Linked DNA regions of Homo sapiens: regions 1, 2, 3, 4, 6 and 7 are each linked to region 5. Evidence: promoter capture Hi-C in human tissues and cell types (Jung and others, 2019). All regions are on one chromosome and are shown on one strand. Each heading gives the region's core, a stretch centred on a gene start or on the middle of the fragment in contact. The rest is flanking DNA. Distances are from core to core; before and after follow the strand shown. Region 1 has its middle 620 kb from the start of SNORD3P3. Region 2 has its middle 310 kb from the start of SNORD3P3. Region 3 has its middle 450 kb from the start of SNORD3P3. Region 4 has its middle 360 kb from the start of SNORD3P3. Region 5 holds the start of FLRT2 (fibronectin leucine rich transmembrane protein 2). Region 6 has its middle 640 kb from the start of SNORD3P3. Region 7 has its middle 470 kb from the start of SNORD3P3.

The links. The method cuts DNA at HindIII sites, captures the fragments that hold promoters and counts their contacts. A contact is called where the count stands out against the background at its distance.
Region 1: a contact is called between a fragment that was not itself captured here and the fragment with the promoter of FLRT2 in region 5, in 1 of the 25 tissues and cell types used here (mesenchymal stem cells).
Region 2: a contact is called between a fragment that was not itself captured here and the fragment with the promoter of FLRT2 in region 5, in 1 of the 25 tissues and cell types used here (dorsolateral prefrontal cortex).
Region 3: a contact is called between a fragment that was not itself captured here and the fragment with the promoter of FLRT2 in region 5, in 1 of the 25 tissues and cell types used here (dorsolateral prefrontal cortex).
Region 4: a contact is called between a fragment that was not itself captured here and the fragment with the promoter of FLRT2 in region 5, in 2 of the 25 tissues and cell types used here (aorta and mesendoderm cells).
Region 6: a fragment that was not itself captured here is called in contact with the fragment with the promoter of FLRT2 in region 5 in 2 of the 25 tissues and cell types used here (dorsolateral prefrontal cortex and mesenchymal stem cells).
Region 7: a contact is called between a fragment that was not itself captured here and the fragment with the promoter of FLRT2 in region 5, in 2 of the 25 tissues and cell types used here (dorsolateral prefrontal cortex and mesenchymal stem cells).

What each region holds. Positions count from the first base shown.
Region 1 is chr14:84,652,920-84,655,957 of GRCh38, reverse strand. No RefSeq gene overlaps it. Among named protein-coding and RNA genes, the nearest start is that of SNORD3P3, 620 kb to the left of the region's middle. The HindIII fragment of the contact is 3,197 bases long and covers 1-3,038 here.
Region 2 is chr14:84,963,115-84,966,154 of GRCh38, reverse strand. No RefSeq gene overlaps it. Among named protein-coding and RNA genes, the nearest start is that of SNORD3P3, 310 kb to the left of the region's middle. The HindIII fragment of the contact is 3,770 bases long and covers 1-3,040 here.
Region 3 is chr14:84,820,951-84,824,041 of GRCh38, reverse strand. No RefSeq gene overlaps it. Among named protein-coding and RNA genes, the nearest start is that of SNORD3P3, 450 kb to the left of the region's middle. The HindIII fragment of the contact is 3,596 bases long and covers 1-3,091 here.
Region 4 is chr14:84,913,038-84,915,816 of GRCh38, reverse strand. No RefSeq gene overlaps it. Among named protein-coding and RNA genes, the nearest start is that of SNORD3P3, 360 kb to the left of the region's middle. The HindIII fragment of the contact is 3,316 bases long and covers 1-2,779 here.
Region 5 is chr14:85,528,397-85,531,462 of GRCh38, reverse strand. It overlaps FLRT2 (fibronectin leucine rich transmembrane protein 2), which reads right to left and starts at 1,319. Exons shown (of 2, transcript NM_013231.6): 1 at 929-1,319. FLRT2-AS1 (FLRT2 antisense RNA 1) reads left to right here. Exons shown (of 2, transcript NR_184170.1): 1 at 1-2,846. The HindIII fragment of the contact is 3,489 bases long and covers 1-2,873 here.
Region 6 is chr14:84,625,859-84,628,864 of GRCh38, reverse strand. No RefSeq gene overlaps it. Among named protein-coding and RNA genes, the nearest start is that of SNORD3P3, 640 kb to the left of the region's middle. The HindIII fragment of the contact is 5,079 bases long and covers 1-3,006 here.
Region 7 is chr14:84,803,325-84,806,454 of GRCh38, reverse strand. No RefSeq gene overlaps it. Among named protein-coding and RNA genes, the nearest start is that of SNORD3P3, 470 kb to the left of the region's middle. The HindIII fragment of the contact is 3,651 bases long and covers 1-3,130 here.

The DNA of each region.
Region 1 (3,038 bases), core at 221-2,720, 880 kb after region 5:
AGCTAATGTACTCAGTTAATCTCACTGGGACTGGTTAGACAGCGGGTGCAGCCCACAGAAGGTGAGCCGAAGCAGGGTGGGGCATCACCTCACCTGGGAAGTGCAAGGGGTTGGGGAATTTCTTCCCCTAGCCAAGGGAAGCCGTGAGGGACCATGCTGTGAGGGAAAATGCTATCTGGCCCAGATTCTACATTTTCCCCACAGTCTTTGCCACCCACAGACCAGAAGATTCCCTTGGGTGCCTACACCACAAGGGCCCTGGGTTTCAAGCACAAAACTGGGAGGCCCTTTGGGCAGACACCAAGCTAGCTGCAAGAGTTTTTTGTTTGTTTGTTTGTTTTTTCCCCAGTGGCACCTGGAATGCCAGCAAGACAGAACCGTTTACTCCTCTGGACAGGGGTTTGAAGCCAGGGAGCCAAGTGGTCTTGCTCAGCAGATCCCAACCCCATAGAGCCCAGCAAGCTAAGATTCACTGGCTTGAAATTCTCGCTGCCAGCACAGCATTCTGAAGTCAACCTGGGAAGTTCAAGCTTGGTGTGGGAAGGGGCATCTGCCATTACTGAGGATTGAGTAGGTGGTTTTCCCCTCACAGTGTAAACAAAGTCGCCAGGAAGTTCAGACTAGGCGGAGCCCACCACAGCACCCCAAAGCTGCTGTAGCCAGACTGCCTCTCTAGATTCCTCCTCTCTGGGCAGGGCATCTCAAAAGACAGGCAGCGACCTCAGTCAGGGGCTTATAGGTAAAACTCCTATCTCCATGGGACAGAGCACCTGGGGTAAGTGGCGGCTGGGGGATGCAGCTTCAGCAGACTTAAATGTTCCTGCCTGCTGGCTCTGAAGAGAGCAGATCTCCCAGCACATTGCTCGAGCTCTGCTAAGGGACAGACTGACTCCTCAAGTGGGTCGCTGATCCCCGTACCTCTTGACTGGGAAAGACCTCCTAGCAGGAGTTGACAGACACCTCATACAGGAGAGCTCCAGCTGGCATCTGGCAGGTGCACCTCTGGGACAAAGCTTCAAGCGGAAGAAGCAGGCAGCAATCTTTGCTGTTCTGCACCCTCTGCTGGTGATACCCAGGCAAACAGGGTCTAAAGTGGACCTCCAGCAAACTCCAGTAGACCTGAAGAAGAGGGACTGGACTGTTAGGAGGAAAACTAACAAACTGAAAGCAATAGTATCAACATCAACAGAAAAGATGACCACACAAAAACTCTATCCAAGCGTCACCAAAAGCAAAGAGCAAAGGTAGATAAATCCACGGAGATGAGGAAAACCCAGCACAAGAAGACCGAAAATTCCAAAAACAAGAATGCCTCTCCGACTCTAAAGGATCACAACTCCTTGCCAACAAGGGAACAAAATTGGATGGAGAATGAATTTGACGAACTGACAGAAGTAGACGTCAGAAGGTGGGTAATAACAAACTCTTCTGAGCTAAAGGAGCATGTTCTAACCCAATGCAAGGAAGTTAAGAACTTTGATAAAAGGTTTGAAGAATTACTAACTAGAATAATCAGCTCAGAGAATAACATAAATGACCTGAGGGAGCTGAAAAACACAGCGTGGGAACTTCATGAAGCATACACAAGTATCAATAGCTGAATCGATCAAGTGGAAGAAAAGATATCAGAGACTGAAGATCAGCTTAATGAAATAAAGCAAGAAAGGATATCAGAGATTGAAGATCAACTTAATGAAATAAAGCATGAAGACAAGAATAGAGAAAAAAGAATGAAAAGGAATGAACAAAGCCTCCAAGAAATATGGGACTATATGAAAAGACCAAACCTATGTTTGATTTGTGTACCTGAAAGTGACAGGAAGAATGGAACCAAGTTGGAAAACGCACTTCAAGATATTATCTAGGAGAACTTCCCAAAACTAGAAAGACAGGCCAATATTCAAATTTAGGAAATACAGAGAACACCACAAAGATACCTCTTGAGAAGAGTAACCCCAAGACACATAATTGTCCGATTCACCAAGGTTGAAATGAAGGAAAAAATGTAAAGGGCAGCCAGAAAGAAAGGTTGGGTTACCCACAAAGGGAAGCCCATCAGACTAACAGTGGATCTCTCTGCAGAAACCCTACAAGCCAGAAGAGAGGGGGGCAAATATTCAACATTATTAAAGAAAAGAATTTTCAGTCCAGAATTCCATATCCAGCCAAACTAAGCTTCATAACCAAAGGAGAAATAAAATCCTTTACAGACAAGCAAATGCTGAGGGATTTTTTTTTCCACCACTAGGCCTGCCTTAAAAGAGCTCCTGAAGGAAGCAATAAATATGGAAAGGAAAAACTGGTACCAGCCACTGCAAGAACAAACCAAAATGTAAAGACCATCAATACGATGAAGAAACTGCATCAACTAATAGGCAAAATAACCAGCTAGCATAATAGTGACAGGATGATATTCACATATAACAATATTAATGTTAAATGTAAATGGGCTAAATGTCCCAATAAAAAGGCACAGACTGGCAAATTGGATAAAGAGTCAAGACCCATTGGTATGCCATATTCAAGAGACCCATCTCAAGTGCAAAGACACCCATAGGCTCAAAATAAAGGGATGGAGGAAGATTCATCAAGTAAGTGGAAAGCAAAAAAAAAAAAAAAAAAAAAAAAAAGCAGAGATTGCAATCCTAGTCTCTGACAAAACAGACATTAAACCAACAAAGATCAAAAAAGACAAAGAACGTCATTACATAATGGTAAAGGGATAAATGCAACAAGAAGAGCTTAGGCAGTTAGATAGATTAACAAGACAGAAAATTAACAAGGATATTCAGGACTTGAACTCAGCTCTGGACCATACAGACCTAATAGACATCTACAGAACTCTCCCCACCAAATCAACAGAATATACATTCTTCTCAGTACCACACAGCAGTTATTCTAAAATAGACCACATCATTGAAAGTAAAACACTCCTCAGCAAATGCAAAATAACAGAAATCATAACAAACAGTTTCTCAGACCACAGTGCAATCAAATTAGAACTCAGGATTAAGAAACTCGCTCAAAACTCCATAACT
Region 2 (3,040 bases), core at 296-2,795, 570 kb after region 5:
ATTTATTGAGATTAATGGTAAATCTTTTCCTGTTCACCTAGCTTCTCAGATCCAGAGCAACAATTTAGCAACTGTATTCTCTTTAAATTGATGAGATGGGTCAGATCGTATTTCTTATGATACTTGGATATCCTAATATTACTGAATTAAACTGTGATTGAGTTTAAATAATGTTAAGAAAAACTCCACTAGTAGACTTTTTAGTTCTTGGTATTCGTCTTCCTTAGTCTGCTCATTCTCTAGTCCACTCACTTAAATTTCTTTTTCATTTCCTCCTGATATTTTTTTTAATTCTGGTATAGTATTCTTTTGATTATACATTCAAACATGTTCCTCTTACATGTTTTGAGAAAATCTGAATGTAAGTTCATATAATTGCAAACAATTTCACACAATATGGATTTGAAATCTAGACTGTAAATTTATTAGATGCATTTAAGTTTTAATACAAAATGTTCTTATAATATAATCACTAGTGGAATTAGCTTTTAATCTTGTTAGACAAAGTTTATAAGATGTCATTATTTTCGATGAGGCTCCTGCTCTAGGCCTTAGCACCTAAGGTTGACTCCAGATCAAACCAAAATGGAGTCACTTTTGCAAAGTGTCATGTAATCAAACTGAATTTTCAAATAAGCTTGTTTTCTAAAAACCAGGAGATTCTAGTGAACCTGAGTCAGCACAATCAGGCACTTTCCTCTGTTTTAAGCCTATAAGGAAAGTACCTTTGACGTGAACAATTTTCTTGTTCCTTGTTTCTGATTTCTTTAGCCATTTTCTGGCTATAAAGCTAAACTTTTCTGCTCGACTTATTGTAATACTCATTCTACTTTGTAGAAAGAACTGTTGCCCGATTCTAGAATCACAAATAAAAGCCAACTAGATCTTTAAATTAGATTTGTTGTGATTTTGTCATTTGATAGTCAATGTAACTAGTTAGTCCTAAGAAATTTTTGCATGTCTACATTGACTTTCAATAATTTTGAGAAGTAACTACATAGATTTTACTCATTCAAGTAGAAACTTGGAATGTACTTTCTCCAGAAAGTGTCAAATCAAGAGCTATAACTTTATTAGTACATAGCAATAAATTCCTCATATCAGATTCTGGTTTAAAAATACAATATAAGACAATGCAAGCTTAAGGGTGTGGAAAACTAAGTGTATTTGATATACTTTCGTTTTTCAAAAAGTTTATTACCTTAATGCCACATTTTACAACATTCCATGGACCACTTGCATCAGAATCACTTGAGCTGATTACTTTTTGTTCAGTTTTATTTTTTAACTCAGATATATGTGGACTCTGACATAGTGAATCGGAATTCTATGAGAGAGACTCTTATTGAAGAATTTTCAGTAAGTTCGTTAAGTCATTCAGCAAACATCTCAGTGTCTACCATGTACCATCCATTGTTATAGGACTAGTGATACAACCACAACTGCTACCTGTCACAGAAAACTACATTCTATTTGATGGGAGACAAGTAAACAACAAATTAATTTAAAAGTAATTATAATGTCCGATGTGGTAAGTGCTATGGATAAAAATAAAGCATCTCAAAGGGTTAGGGACTACAATTAGAAGGAAGAGGAGGAGGAGATTTCAATTTCAAATAAAATAATAAAGGAATGTATCATAGAGACAAGGCATGAAGGAAGAGAGGGGAAAATCCAGTAAGATATGTAAAAGGAAGGACTTTCCAGGCATAATAAATGAGAGCTGAGATGAGAGGAGCCCAATATGTCTGAATAAGAGCAAGAATACTAGGGTAGCTGAAGTGAGCTGAATGCAGCAGAGACAGTATTTCTGGGTCCATAAGAGAGTGAATTTTGCAGACATACTGCTTGGTGACAACCACTCACTTGCTGTGTGACCTCTGCCAAGCTTCATAATTGCTCTGTGTCTCAAATACTTCATCTATAAAATGGGAGCAATAATTGTGCCTACCTTATTGAGTTGTTATGAATGTTTTATATTTGCAACTGCTTGGTACTCATAAAAATAAAGAATAGAACCAGAAGATGGGTTCAGAAAGGCAAGAGGTACCCAATCTGTAGAATATTTACTTTCTCTCTGAGTTGAGAAACCAAAATAGGTTTGAGTTGAGAAATGGTGAGATCCAACATACATATTAAGCAGGACAAAGTTTTGTATTTTTTTTTATTCCTGATTAAGGAATTCCTCGGAAAGAACACCTTGAATTTTTGATCCAGCATGTCATTTATTTTATTTTATTTTTGTGGCCTTCAACATCTGAATATCAAAAATCTCCTGTGTTTAAAATACCCTCAAGTATTTCCAAGGGTTAATGTATGTTCCAGCACCTGTTATTCCGGTCATGAATAGTAGAGCACCACTCATACTTTCCTTGTTGCTACAACGTAACACAAATCTGTCATTTCCGAAGTTCTTGACCTGCACTTTCCTTGTCCCATATTACAGGATATATATGTTTGTCCAGCTTATCTCACTGTGTTACTTGAACGTCAACTGAGATAAAATACACATTAGCTCATTGAAAATGGTAAAACTCTGTAAAAGCAAATATTTGATAACCCATGGTGTTATTCTGGTCTTTTTGAGTTTTATAGCATTGGGCCAATTACAGCGGGTCCCCAAATTGTGATAGTTCAACTTACAATTTTTTTTAAAGACAAGTTTTCACTCCATTGCCCAGGCCGCAGTTACAAATTGACACTAAAATTGTGTGAAAGAAATACACATTCAGTAGAAACTATATTTCCAATACCCATACAACCTTCTTTTTTTTGTACTTTCTGTATTCAATACATTACATAAAATATTAAACACTTTTTTTATAAAATAGAATTTGTGTTAGATAATTTTGCCCAACTACGGGTTAATGTAAGTGTTCTGACCATGTTTAAAGTCAGCAAAGCTAAGGTATGATGACTGGTAGGTGAGGTTTATTAGCTAAGCTATGATGTTTGGTAAGTGAGGTCTATCAAATGCATTTTCAACTTACAATATTTTCAACTTACAATGGGGTTTATCAAGATGTCATTCTGTTGTAAG
Region 3 (3,091 bases), core at 527-3,026, 710 kb after region 5:
AAAGGTCACAAAATGCAAGTGTGCTATCTAGGATAACATATGTGGTGACATCTATCTCGAGTTTCAGTTAGGTAAATTTAAAGTTAATGATCTACTATCTGTCATTTCACAAGAACTTCTGAAGTTTTCTCCTTTCTATCATGGTCCCTCCAAGTGATAGGAGCTGTAGTTTTGATTTTAAAAAGAGAACATTTGGTCTAGGCCAACGTTTCTTCCTTTAGGGAGAGTATGGAGTCAGATTTACGTTTGTGTATATAGACTTTTAAAAACTGATGACTTTCAACAGTACCAAGTCTTTTCATAGCTTCACTATTACTGCTACTAAGTTGTCTAATTGTGGGTGGGGGCGTGAGAGAAAGAGAAAGGAGAGAGAGAAAGAGATAAAAGAAATAAGAAAACACATCCTTTATACTAGAAGACTCAGAATGATAAAAATATCCTGAAAAATATCAGTTGTTCTAGAAAGTTTGATACTAATGTAATTAGGCAGTATTGATTACCTTCCCAAATACTCCAAAAAATTGAGAAATTTAAAAAATATTGTTTCTCCCTACAGGGTTATTTTGTTTAGCTGAAGTTGCGGAGTATTCGTAACATGAAAGAAGTTTCACGAAATACAAAATGTGTGGACACTATGGGAGTCTTATTAGATGAAACATTTTTATTATTAGAATATTAGATTCCTGAAACCTCAAAACTGAGAAATCAGAGAAAGTCTATAAGTCTGAGAAGCAATTTTAATCATTCTATCCAGAGGAAACAGTACTTGAACCATTTTTACTAATTGTCTAATACTTTATGTGCTTGGGTCCATTTCACCAATGTTTTACATAAATAAGGGGTTGAAAAATGACAAGTCTGCTATTATAGAAGTTCAAGTGATATTGTTTCACAGGTTTTTAAACTTTAAAATCTTAGTTCTATGATTGTTATTTATTTACTTGAATCAGAAAATTTTAGTCCCTTCGGTTTCAATAAAGTTAAATTTAACATCGTGGAAATGAAACAAAGCTCCTGCCTCATTATACAAATCAAAATATCAAATCTAAGTGTCACACTTAGACTTCTTAACTTTTAGTTTAAATTAAAGATAAAAATGCCTTAACTTTGGCTGGGCTATTCAGCATAGAATTATTTCTGCACATTCAAGTAATTGACTTAAAAGCTTAAACAAATCTCTTTACCTGACACAGCTATCTAATTGCAGCAACAATCTGACTTCATTTTGTCTGCTGCATGAATTCAATTGACTTCCATATGGCATTGTGGCTTCACTGCATTTGTTTGTTTGTTTTTCTGGGATAATCAACAGGATGGTGAGAAAGATACATAGCTGTGAGCACACACAACCATACCTTCACAAACATTTGCTTCCAGTTTGTGGTGCAAGTTGAGCTTATTTTGAGCCAACCTGGAACTCAGTTCAGATTGTCTAGCTTTTGTTTGTGGCCTGTCCTCCATACCCCAGGGACAGATCAGGTCCCTCATGCACCTGGTGAACCATGCAACATTAGAGCTTGGTAGGGAGAGGAAATGTAATTTTTTTTTCTTTGAACCCAGCTGGCATTCAATATACTCTCTGAAACAAGAGGACTGTAACATTAATCCAGTTTAATATGCATTTTTAATAAAACTGCAGATTCTGTTCTTCTTCATACATGTCCAACTCTAAAGTGTCACTCACTGCTCAGATTTTGTTTCTTATATTTATTGTGGGAAATGACGTTACAAAATGTGCAGTTCCTTGTAAAACATTGGCTTTTGAGACATTTTCTTCTCCTCTCTGTGAATCAAAAACTAAAATTATAAATTACCTCTGCAGCCTACATGTCCCAGGTTTTTATTAGGGTCTCAAAAATCCTCCTCATTTGAAATGTAGCCAACTGAGTTAAAAGCTTTAATCATGAAGGATTTAGAGCAAACTGGAGAAATTTTCTTTGCAAGGACACCTGACATTCTTTAGGCCAGTGTTTGATATGGTGCTGTAGTCACGTGGCCTTCTAGGGCCAAGTCCCAAGAATATGCCATAGCTTTGTTACAATATGAACAATACCTAGAGCAGAAAAAGTAAAAGACCATTTTTATTAAAGCCAACTTGCCCTGGATTTCTAGGTCCACTCATTTGCATGGAATGATGGCTGCTGTCATACATTTTAATAGTTGCCTGATCTTATGTCTGCTGGGAGGTGATCACCTTCAGTTGCTACACATTCCCTAGATTTGGTTGGCTTTGTCAACTTGTCATGGTCACTCTTGATCTCTGATGTCTGAGGCACTTTCTTTCAGTCGACCCTCTCTATAAGCATTGACTCTTATTCTCAGCCTTTTCCTCGGCTTTTTTAATAGTCACATGAACTCCATTTTTTCCCAATTCAACACACGTGAGGGATGAATCAGATATCGACAGTGGTTCTCAATAAATGTTCCCAGGTTAATTTGTTCCTCAAAGGAGGCTCTGCTCACTTCACACCCTACCTCTCAGAGTGTTAATGTTTGTAATATTTATCAATTTACTCATGAACAAGGAGTTTAAACAAATGTGCCACAGTGATCATCATACAGTGCCTGCCCTCAAGGAGCTGACCATGAGGTTAGAAAAGGGCAAAGTGAGAACGGAGATATCTGCCTCTATGGAGTGTCAGCACTGAAAACTAGCACTTATGTCAACAAGACTAGTATTTTTCCAGAAGATGTGTTTCCTGGAAATAAAATACTAACTGCAAGGCAATACATAACTTCGCTGCTTGCTTCAAGAAATTTCTGAAACCCAATTTATTTGATCAAGAGATTACATTTTTGGGCATATAGCCTGCATTTCAGGATAATAGGTTTCCCACTTTGGCAAAAAGGTAACTTATCAAATACCTGTTTACTTATTAAGGCAAATGACAAGACCCTGGCACCTCTGTGTTCATCACTTTTAAACTATTAGATCACAAATTTTGTCTAATCCAAATCAGTTCCCTCTCTTGGAAGACCCGCCTAAAACTACTTGAGCCCAGATTCCAAAACTCTATAACTACATTCCTGAGACACAAGGTAGACTCCTTAAAGTGGAACTCTCCTTTATTGCAAATGTCAAAAACTCTGG
Region 4 (2,779 bases), core at 184-2,683, 620 kb after region 5:
AGATAAAATTGTTTACTCATCGGGCAAATTAGAAAAGAAGGGATCAAAGACCCTGCAAAAACAATGGGATGCAATTTTGACTGGTTTGCAGAGGCATCTAAGAGATGAAATGAATCAAAGCTTGCCTCTTTAAAAGATTCCTTACAGAAGGCAAGTTTAAAAATCTTTAAAGTATTTTTTTCACAAATATTAGTTAAAACTTTTAGCCATCTGGGTAAGAAATCTTGTTCCATTGGCCAGAAAAATAATTTTGATCCAGATAGTTTTAAATAAAATAGTGAGTTTGTGTTATTGTACTTGGTGCATGGACAAAATTTTAAAATGAAAGCTATACAATCTCTTTCTATATGTTTATCTATATCTGTATGATATGTATATATACATACATGTATATGTGATATTTGTCTATCTTACTATACTGTCAGATTAAATTACAAAGGAGCTCTGTTTAGTTGTCTTTAAGAAAAATAAGGCTTATATAAATGAAATATTCTATCAAAAAATAGGATCTAACCCAAATGCATTTCGAGTTCATGTGACTTGGGTAATCTTTGATAATAAAAAAAAAAGTTTGTTTGATTAAAATAGGCATGTCTTCAGCGTTTTCAACATTAAATATAATACATACTCACAATTTTTCCTACCTAAGTTTACTGGTAAAATAAGCTTATGTTATCTCTATACTTAAAAAATTCATTGGTAAAATAAGAATAATTATAAAAACATAATGGCTGGCTGTTTTGTGTTTTATCAATATCAGAAATCCAAGCATAATTATTAAAAATAAGTAAGTTATATAAATGTAAGATAAACTTTCCGTGTAAGAGATGTCCTTCCTATACCAGAAGCATTTTACATTTTTATCACTGAAAATGGGTAGTTGAGGCCAAGAAAAATCTGTACAAACAATTTAATTCTCAGACCTAGCCCCCACCACCAAGAAAAAGAAAAAGTTAACAGGATAGAGATATCAGTTTTCCTCATTTATTACAGAGAGAGTAAAGATATCTGAGACTATTAGTAAACGTGCTCTGTGCCGCATTAAGAAATTTGCACTGTGAGAAACCACACGCTTCTAGAAATTATAATTCATACATTTTGCCAAACTATAGATTGCTAATGTGACAGACAGCTGACACTTGGTTGCTTACTGATGTTCAGTGAAAATTAAGATCACTAAGGGTAAAAATTATAATTAATATATGTAACTAAAATCACTAGAAATAATAAGAAAAGAACACTGTGCAAATATACAAGGAAGGTAAAATGTGCTTTTGTGAGGAATAGTGATATAATATGAGGATGTTTTATTATCTTTAAGGTAAAAAGCATAATTTTTGCTCTAAAATAGAATGATTCATGGTTCCCAAATGAGAAAGGGAAAGTATAAGACAAAAACTAAATGGATGAGAAAGCTGTGGAAGGCTTGTGGAAGATGAACCTTATGAAAGGAATTTTATGTGTGATCAAACTGGCTAAGATTAGAAGTAAATTATAAACTTTTATAAAAGATGACTATCAGTATCAAAAATGTACCGATACAACACCAGAAGTTTGTTCTCGCTATTATAACAACAGGGTTTTTTGGAGTATTGGTCTCCCTTTTTTTTTTTTTTTTTTTTGAGACGGAGTTTCACTCTTGTTGCCCAGGCTGGAGTGCAATGGCGCTATCTCGGCTCACGCAACCTCTGCCTCCCAGGTTCAAGCAATTCTCCTGCCTCAGCCTCCCGAGCAGCTGGGATTACAGGCATGCACCACCACGCCTAGCTAATTTTGTATTTTTAGTAGAGACGGGGTTTCTCCATGTTGAGGCTGGTCTCGAACTCCTGACCTCAGGTGATCTGCCCACCTCGGCCTCCCAAAGTGCTGGGATTACAGGCGTGAGCCACCGCGCCCAGCCGGTCTTCCCTTAATAGAAAATGTTGAATTTTTTTTAAACTTCTGAGTAATTTGGCTAGGAAATAAAAATTCACTGTTTTACCTAAATAATTTTCTATGATTAATGATGTCTTCATTAGGTTTTGATCATGTGAAAAAGCTGAATTCTTTTTTTTAAAAGGATTTAAGGTTTTTCTACAGCCAGGTTACATTCTGTATTTACCTTTAAAGCCCTTTAATTATTACTTTGGTTAAATGAATGACTGTTGTTCATAGTGACCTAAGATTTTATTTTGATCAAGTATTTCAAGTCTTTTATTTTTTGTGTGTGAATTTCTCCAACTCAAACTCAAGTGTTTGTCTTGACCTAGAATTAACTTTAGAATTTTCCATATAGATGCATAGGATACCTCAATTAGATAACTCTCCTTACAAAAACAGAGATATTGAGATAATGTGGCTTATTTAGTATATTAAATTATATCGAAAGCCTTGTCAAATAATAAGTAATGGTAAACCTTCTTTGGGTTATATTTGTATGGATGTGATATTAATATGTATTTTAGAAATTGTATGAAATTCACAGAAATCGAATAGTCCTGGTATAATGCTATCAGTCATAATTCTAGTAGTTACCATAAAATGTTATATGCAACAGAAATAGCCAAATTTCCTTGTCAATTTGTGTAATTGTTGCAATGAACTTTCACCAGATCTTTAATCATGGCCATTTCAAGTCTTGTAATTCACAGATGGTTAACTGTTTACTTTGGTACCTTCCTGAGCAATGATAAACCTAAACACTTTCATCTTCAAGGAGATTCACGGAAAGGATTCTGACAAATACAGGTTTCTGATAATTTGAGATCATGCCTCTGAACTCCGTAAGAATTTCCAGAAC
Region 5 (3,066 bases), core at 70-2,569:
GATTATAAATGACGAAAGACCGCGGCAGCCTTCAAAGTGCGGGAGCGAGCCCCGTACTGGTCAGCGCGGCGGAGGGATCTTTCCAGGAGGCCCCAAGCCCCCAAGCCTGTGGAGAGACTTGGTAACAGCTGGCAAGGCCTGCTCCAGCCACCCTCGCTGGCTCCTTGCCCCTGCATTCAGCGCCTGAGGGCGTTATTCGCCCTCTCCCTGCGTCCCACGCAAGCGGCTCAAGGAACTCACTCGATCCGGATTCCGCCTCGTATGCTCTCCAAGCCTTCGCCACCTCCGCAGGCGCTCTAGAAAGGCGTGATGGCCCCAGCTCAGTGCCCGCCAGCCCGAAGAGGACAAGCAGGGCTGGAAGGGACTTGGTTTTGGAAAAAGCCCCACCCGCCCCCACCAACTGGAAGGAAAAGGAATTAGTATCCACCGCATCTGTTTAACTGCTAATAGATCCCAGATTACGGGCAGGTAGTAGGTTGGTGTCTTTAGATACAACAGCCTGATAATAACGCTGGTGACATTAACAACAGCTTGTGGAGGGGAGAGGGTTGTTACTGGTGAAAGTTAAGAGATTCAATCTAGGGAAGTAGGAGACTGAACTCTGACAAGGTTAGGGGCACTGAGAACCCCAATTTAGCATCGATGCATCTACCAGGCAAGAAAATTTGCGTTTTGACCCAGAACTCAGTCATGATGCTCCGTAGAGGAGGTGGATTCGACCAGCAGACAGATGTCCCCAAAGTCGAGAGAGAGCTAAGCTGCCTATTTTCTCTCCAGGTGAAAGACAAAGCCTAGAGCACCCCACTTAAGATGACCACCCCCAGCTCTTTCAAAAAAAAAAAATCCCCCGAAGAGACAGCGTGGTGCCAGCGTAGCAGCAGCTCGGCCGGTTACTGGAAACTTCACCTGGCAACGCAGCCCCTTTTACCTGACGGCTGCGTCTTCTCCTTGCAATGGGCTCATCCGAATCCGACAGGGTCAGGGAGGTGGAAAGGGAAGACGCTGGCGCGGCAGCAGCGGGGATCCCGGGGCATGGTATTGTTTTAGGGGTCGCCGCCGAGGTCCCTCCTGCCCATCGTTGAGAACTGCCACCCTGATCCCAGGGCTCGGTGGACACGGCGGCGGGAGCGGAGATGCCGCCTCGCCGCTGCTGGGCACCAGGGACGGAGGACCAGAGGCGCACCTCGGAAAGGAGTAGCTCAGCGCCTTGGCGCGGAGATTTGCGGGCACTGATGATATCTCGAGCGCTCGTTCCTCCGCGGTGACAATGGATAATGCCAAACGCGCAAGTGACGGCGACAGGTTTCGAACGTACAACTAACTACAAGGTACCCAGCCTGAGACAGTATGCTGCTTTTCCCCTCCTCCTCCTCTCCCTCCTACCAGGGAGGGAACTAACTTAACCCTGTGTGCGCCTGACACTCCCTAGAGAAGCTGGGATCGACTAGGAAACCGCAGGCAGCGGCTCCCGGGGGCGAGAGCTTTGTTCACGTGCGTTTCCAGTGGGTGTGTTGCTGTCTAGGGGCACTCGCGTGGCAAGACGCCCGTGGCTGGCTTCCAGCGCCCAAGATTCAAGGAAGGGAAGGAGCCCTAGCGTTTCATCCGGACCAGACCCAGCCCTCGGAGTCTATTTTTTGCCTCCAGTTACCGGATTTATTGAAGTTGCCAGCGAAGTTGGTTTTATTCCTTTACTTCTCTGCTCTCCGCCCCCGTCCACATCCCCCAACCCTGTATTATTTCCTGTCCTAGCTGCGCTTTAAAGATTCGGAACTTTTCACTCGTTCTAGCTACAGATTTTAACTGTGTTCCGTGTGCGAGACGAATTGTGGAGGGCACCCACCCACCCATGCCAAGTGTAAATGAAACCGCAAGAAAAGCTGCCTCCCACTCACCCATCCAGTGTCCGAGTAAGCCTAATGACACACATTCACATAACTAAGAAGACACGGGAAGATAGGGGTGCGGAGGACGGAGTTTGATGTGTGAATGGGAAATGGAGAGAGGGGACAGCGCGCGCGAGAGAAACAGCGCGAGCCTGAGCCTTAGAATGGAATAAACGGGAAACACACACAAGAATGACGATGCAAAAAATGTATCTAAGTCCCAACATTGACAGCAGAGGGTCAGCTTTAAGCGCCTACATTTTGATCCGCGAAATTTCCCAGCTTTTTTGGAGGCGGTTACATAGAGAACACAGGAGCCTCTGCCTTGGCCGCCCAGATGCTTTGCATTTTGTAAACAGCTTTGACTAAGTGCTCTGGACTTCCAAGAAGTTAACTGGAGTGGAAGGCGAGTCATATTGTGGATGCGGAATGGAAGCTTAGACAAGAAAAAACTGTCAGCAGAGCGCCTCTGCTCTCACCGTCACACCCAAATGAGCCAGGACGTCGCTCAGAGCGCAAACTGAGATCCACACAGGGACATCTTCAACCGAATCTTTCTTCTGTCTCCATTCCGGACTAAGGAAAGAAAGAAAGAAATACGGAGCCTTTATAGAGTATTCAGAGGCTACACACATGGATCTTGCTGAAACGGAGTTATTTAAAAACAGAGAAAGTGTGTTTTCCCATGAGATAGATGTTATAGTTTCTCTCTGAAACATACCCAAGTCTATGGGTGTCAATAATAGCCATTTCAAATGCCTCTCTGAGCCTTGCCAGCCCCAGAAGAGGCTGTGGGAATGCTGCTTCCAGCTTCCCCTGTGCAGAACTCCGTTGTAAATCCTTCTGAGTTTCCAAGGTGGCAGCAGAGCATAGGGATAGCTCCTCAAGCTCCAGCATCAACAAGGAAGATCACATTTTAGGACAAATACTCATCTACCTGCATTTAAACATCCATTTTCGTATGTAAGTGTACATAAGTATCCGCAGGAGGTTCTTCCTTTGAAATCTTGATCCAGGAAAGCAGCATAATTATTTCATCTTTAAGAACACATTTTAAAAAGGCAAAGCAGGATCTTTAAAGCAACAAAGGTTTTGCTTTCTGATTTATGCTGCTAGAAAATGAATGAGATTGAAAATGGGGGAGGGGGTGGTTGCAGATTTACAGAATTCATACTTTAAATTA
Region 6 (3,006 bases), core at 80-2,579, 900 kb after region 5:
AGTTACCTAACATGGTTTAACTTCAGTTTTTTTCATCTCTAAATTCTTTTGTTTTTAATAAACTGGTCTTTAAGCTTAGTTTCTAAAGAATAAAGTAATCATGTTAGAAATATAGTGATATCCAGGTATTAATTAAAATGGTAGGCGTTTTCATGACTCCCAAGAGCTATAGGCTTTGATCTTTATCATCTCTGTATGCCCCATTACGCCAAGTACATGGTAGCACCTCAGTATATGCTTATTATGTGATTGACATAATATTGACTTAATTACTGAGTTGTGGTTATTGATGGTAGGTTAAAAATTTCCCCTCAATCTTATTGCATTTAATTATTTAAATTAATTTATCACATTTGTATTTCTATTTAAATCTCTGTAAAGTCAGAGAATGCCAATTTTTTAAGGATATTAATGTTTGCATACAAAGATACACACACAAACACATTTATACATTTACACACATATGTACATATGAATATAACAAAGTTTCACTAAGCTGTTTCATTTCACATTGTAAATAATTGATTAAGTGACCTCAAATCTATTAGGTCATAGGTGTGATAGAATTACAAATAAACAATAGGAATATGAAAGCCAGAAGACAGATGTAGACAGCTAGATGGCATCCAACATGTCAATTATAGTAGTGAAATGTAGTTATTGTGTGAAGTATTGCAAATCATGATTATTCTTTCCCCCCGAAACAAATAAATCAAAAAAAAACTTTTTTTTTCCATTTGCAGCAAAAACCTGTTTGTTTGTATATCAAAATGTAAAACTGCTGTACAAAACATGGCAACTTAACAGCCATCCAGTGCCAGCAATATAGAGCCAGCCATGAGCAGAGCTGGCACACTGAACACTGCAGTGACTGGTATGATACCCATAAAAAGGTTCCACACATCTATGTTGCAGTCAATTACCAGTTATTTTGTGTTATTACTAAAAAAACCCTTTTTTTCCCCAAATATAGAGCAGATCTAGGACTTCTGTGAGTTCCTTGACTCATGGCCTAAATTTTCCAGGATTCTAGGGTTTGTGTTTGAGTCTTCAGAATGATTAAGAGGCTCTCACTCTGGCAGCCAAATCATCAGGTAGGAAAATCCATAATTAGATTAATGTTGTTTTTTTCAAATGCTGACAGACAGTTGCTTTCATTAAGTTATGCCTCACCCAGTGAAGTGAAAATTGAGAACCATTCCTTCATTCACCTTGTATGAAACTTTCTTACTGAGGTCTCACTAGATGGGGTCTGTTAAAAACCACACCAGAGGAATTTCCTTATTGCAGACCACTCATTCATTCAATGCGGCTGAGCAAATCATTGAGCTAATTTACCAACTTCACATATTTTGTAATTGTATTCTTACAATATAAAGGGACCCAATAAATCCTGCCTAGTCCTTGGCAGATCATATTCTCTGCTCCTGTTTTCAGAATTCTTCTTTATCCCTCTGGTTTGCAAAACTTATGGTAAATGCACTACAGTTTAGCTGGTGTAGTGTCTTTACACAGAGAGGTGTGAGGCACTTCCACAGATTAAAGATGAATTACAGATCCATGTCCCAGGATGACATCCTTTGCTCCTATGTGGGGGCTCTAGTGGCATTCAAATAGTGACTTGGAGTGTTTCTTCCTGCGGGGTCTCTTTATCATGACATCTATTTGAACAGGGTTTTCCTGCATTACACACACATTTTGGCTAGAAATTAGAAAACAAAAATAACAAACAATAATTTATTTTGGAAATGAATAAAAAAAAAAGAATATCAATTCAGGAGAGAAGAAAGAGGTCCCTTATAGCAATAGTAATGCTTGGCAGATAAATGTTAATCTGAGTAGCTCACTAACTCTTTAGGCTATCTAAAATGATTCCTTAAGAGGGCAAAAAGGAAAATAGAGGCAGACTCCTTGGAGAGTATCAATTTATTGATAATGAAAAACAAAAAGCATAGGATGTAGATGTGATCACTAAAAGGAAATGTGTACAATTATAGTTTGTCAATTTACAATAAAAATTAGCAGCAAGTAAAAATTTTAGAATGAATACTACAATATCTAAAATTTTAAAATTACCACTTTGGGCTTAACAATTTATTAAATATTGTCAAAGAAAAGATAAGTAAATCAAAGATAAGAAAATAAGATGTTTCCAAATTGAAAAATAGAAAAAAAATTTAAAAAATGAAAAGGTCCTCAGTTATTTGAAGGATAGTATCAAGTAGTCTAAAATATGCATAATTGTAATTCAAAAAAGAAAGAAAAAGAGATGTGGATACAACTACTTAAATAAAATGTATTTTTTCCAAATGCAATAAAAGCTATGAATATATAGATAAAATAATTATCATGAATGCTAATTAAAAAACAAACAGAAAGAAAACACCATCAAAGCTTATAAAAATCAAATTGATAGAAATTGAAATTTTAAAAAATCTCAAAAAAAGTCAGAGGAAAAAAATATATATCATCTTCATGAAGTAAAGCTAAAAATTACTGATGACTTTTGAAAAGAATGTAAGACAGAAGGCAATGGAACAAAAAATTTTCAGGTTAGCTCAACAAAAATTCACTATAAATATAAAAGACACATATTCAGTCAAATAAATATTAAGATTTTTTCATTAGACATATAAGAGCTATGAAAAGAACCTGAAACTAAACAAAATATAGGCACACAAAGCATGTGGATATATATGATTTTGACATCAAATATATTTATAGAGCCCTATACCAAGCAACTGAAATACACAAGTTGTTTGTGTACTCATAAAATAGTCACAAACACAGATAATATTCTCCACCATAAATCAAGTCTCAATAAATTTCAAAAAAGGGAAATAATAGAAAATTAAATTAAAAACAATAATGGAACACCTGGATAATCCATAAATATTCATAAGGTAAACAGCACTATTCTTTATAACTTCTGGGACAGAAAAGAAATCACACAAAAAAATTACAAAGTAGGCTGAAATATTTTAAAATAACAACTCCAAAGAGTAA
Region 7 (3,130 bases), core at 551-3,050, 730 kb after region 5:
TGGTGAGAGTCTTTGCACCCCAGCTGGAAAACTTCCCTAGCTCTCAGGAAATGGTGAGTCTCAAAAGCTTTTCACCTCAGGGCTGTGGAGACAGGAGACTGGAGGATTTATGGAACATATGCATAATGCATTTCAATATGCTTTTCATGTGAGCAATCTCATTTACTTTTTCTGCAATACCATGACTTAAGTATTATTCCTCTTATGAAAGATTCTTCATAACTAATTGAAGGTTAGGTTAGATAAATTGGCCAAGACCACACAAGGAGAAAAAGTTAATAGAACTTTAACCTGTTCTTTATCCTCCAAGTGTCATGTGTTCCTTCTGCTACAAGCTGCCTTATGTTCCTCTTCACTAGACTCTCCCTTAAAACACATAGGATAATATACGCTTAGTACTTTGGGCATACGTGGACATTCGCCCTATCTGACCAAGCACAGGTATGCAGGTTATATACAGTACGTGCTTGCCCTACAATTATTTCCAGCTGAAGATATTTAGTGCCTTCTCTGGTCCCTCTCATTGGTCTACTTTTCTTTCTCTTTCTTCAGTTTTGCTTCTTGCTATCTCATATGATTTGGCTGCATGTCCCCATCCAAATCTCATGTTGAATTGTAATCCCCAGTGTTGGTGGAGGAACCTTGTATTAGTCAGGGTTTTCTAAAGGGACAGAACTAATAGAGTAGATGAATATATGAAGGGTAGTTTTTTAGGAGATTGACTCACACGATCACAAGGTGAAGTCCCACAATACACTGTTTGGAAGCTGAGGAGCCCAGAAGCCAGTCCAAGTCTCAAAACCTCAAAAGTAGGGAAGCCAATAGTGCAGCCTTCAGCCTGCGACTGAAGGCCTGAGAGCCCCTGGCAAATCACTGGTATAAGTCTGAGAGTCCAAAAGCTGAAGAACTTGGAGTCTGATGTTGGAGGCCAGGAAGCACCCAGTATGGGAGAAAGATGGAGGCCAGAAGACTGAGCCAGACTAGTCCTTCCAAGTTTCTCTGCCTGCTTTATCCTAGCCATGCTGGCAGCTGATTACATGGTGTCCACCCAGATTGAGGGTGGGTCTGCCTCTCCCAGGCCTTTGACTCAAATGTTAATCTCCTTTGGCAACACCCTCATGGAAACAGCCAGGAACAATACTTTGCTTCTTTCAGTCCAATCAAGATGACACTCAGTATTAACTATCAAAGACCTCATGAGAGGTGATTGGCTTATAGGGTAGATTTCCTCTTGCTGTTCTTGTGATAGTCAGTGAGTTCTCACGAGATCTGTTGTTTAAAAGCATGTAGCACTTCCCCCATTCACTTTCTCCCCTGCTCTGCCATGTGAAGAAGCTTCCTGCTTCCTTTTGGCCTCTCCACCATCATTGTAAGTTTCCTGAGGCCTCTCCAACCATGTTTCCTGTATAGCCTGTTGACTGTGAGTCAATTAAACCTATTTTCTTTATAAATTATTCAGTCTCTTTCTTTATAAATTACTCTTTATAGCAATGTGAGAATGGAATAATACACTACCTTTTCCCCTTCTATCTTTTCCCACTTTCCCTGTACTTTCTCCATTTAGCACTATTTCTTTAGGGAATTGGTGAGAGGAAAATGAGTTAGAATTAGATCATTGGGTAAGTAAGTGAGGGAAGAAAGCTGAAGCTTTTTAGTTTTTCTTCTCCTCTTCTGACCAAACAAAATGAAATAAGTATGATTGATGGTAGCTTTGTGTTATTTCTGAAGGCCAAGTGGTGAAACATCTGATAAATGTACTTTCTTAAAATGCAATTTAAACAGAGTAGAACTTATCTCTTATCTCTTTATAAAAAGCTCCCGATTGTGAAAGACATGAGCAAAGAAGTTATTAGTCTAGTCTCACACACTAGAAAAACTGAATAGAATTATACACTATTCCCTACCATGAATAATTGTGAAATGTAGACATTTTAAGCCCTGGCTATTTAGGTAACATCTACCACTGCATTTACATGAGATTTACATTAAACTTCAATCCCCAACAAATACAGTCAGAAGGTATGTTCATATTCCTTAGCATATCTTTTGCAGGGAAAAAAATCACGATTTAGTTCCCTGATTTAAAAATAGGTCAAGAAATGGGAAGTTCCATATTTAATTTAATCAGGACCTAAATAATGACAGCAAGGACCAAAGTGTTTTGTTTTGTCTTGTTTTTCCTTTTCTCTGCTTTAATGTCTATCTATAATCCGGCATTCAAGATAGCTGCCAGAGTTCCATGCATCATATCTAGGCATGGCAATGTAGTGCAACAAAAGACACCATTCTTTCGATTGACTTACTTTTTAAGAGTAAGCAACCTCTCCCAGGAGCACCCTCTACAGAAACCTTAAGACCTTATTGGCCTGCATCACATTCCATCCTCATGCTTAAACAAAATAGATTGAATCTGATTCGTTGCTGAGATTGGAATAGGGCCAGCCTTTCTTATAGATATGTATATAAACTACATCAGGTTCTGTAAATAAGAAAGCAGGGCAAGCAAACTGTGTAGGTAAGCAAAAATGACTGCTACAGCATTTGAATTTGATTATTTATTACATTTTTTTCTGTTGCCATTCCTGCAGAAACTCATGAGATGGTCTTCCAATAAAGTTGTTTTGTTATTATGTTGGTGAGGAAAAAAAATAGATTCTCAGCTGAGGACACTGCATGGTGTTTGCAAATTCTCCCGACGTCTGTGTGAGTTTTCTCTAGGTATTCTGGTTTTCTCCCACATCCCAAAGATACGCACGTTGGGTTCACTGGTGTGTGTAAATGGCTTTAGTCTGAGTGAGTGTGTGTATATGATTGCACTCTGCAAGGTAATGGAGTCCCATGAGGGTCAGTCCTCCCCTTGTGCCCTGAGCTGCTGGATGGGCTCGGGCTCCCTGAGACCTTGAACTAAGGTGAACGGATTGAAAAATGAAAAAAAAAAATGAATGAATACACATTGTAAAATATAAATTAATCAGGTACACAATAATCATAATAGTCATACAAATGCACAAAAATAAATGATGCCGCATGAAAGCACATGGCGAGCCTGCCCCATTTGTGATTGTTTTTGATCTGTTTAGTGGTAGAGGGTGTTCCATACAATATTTGCTTTGCAAATATTTATTTCTTG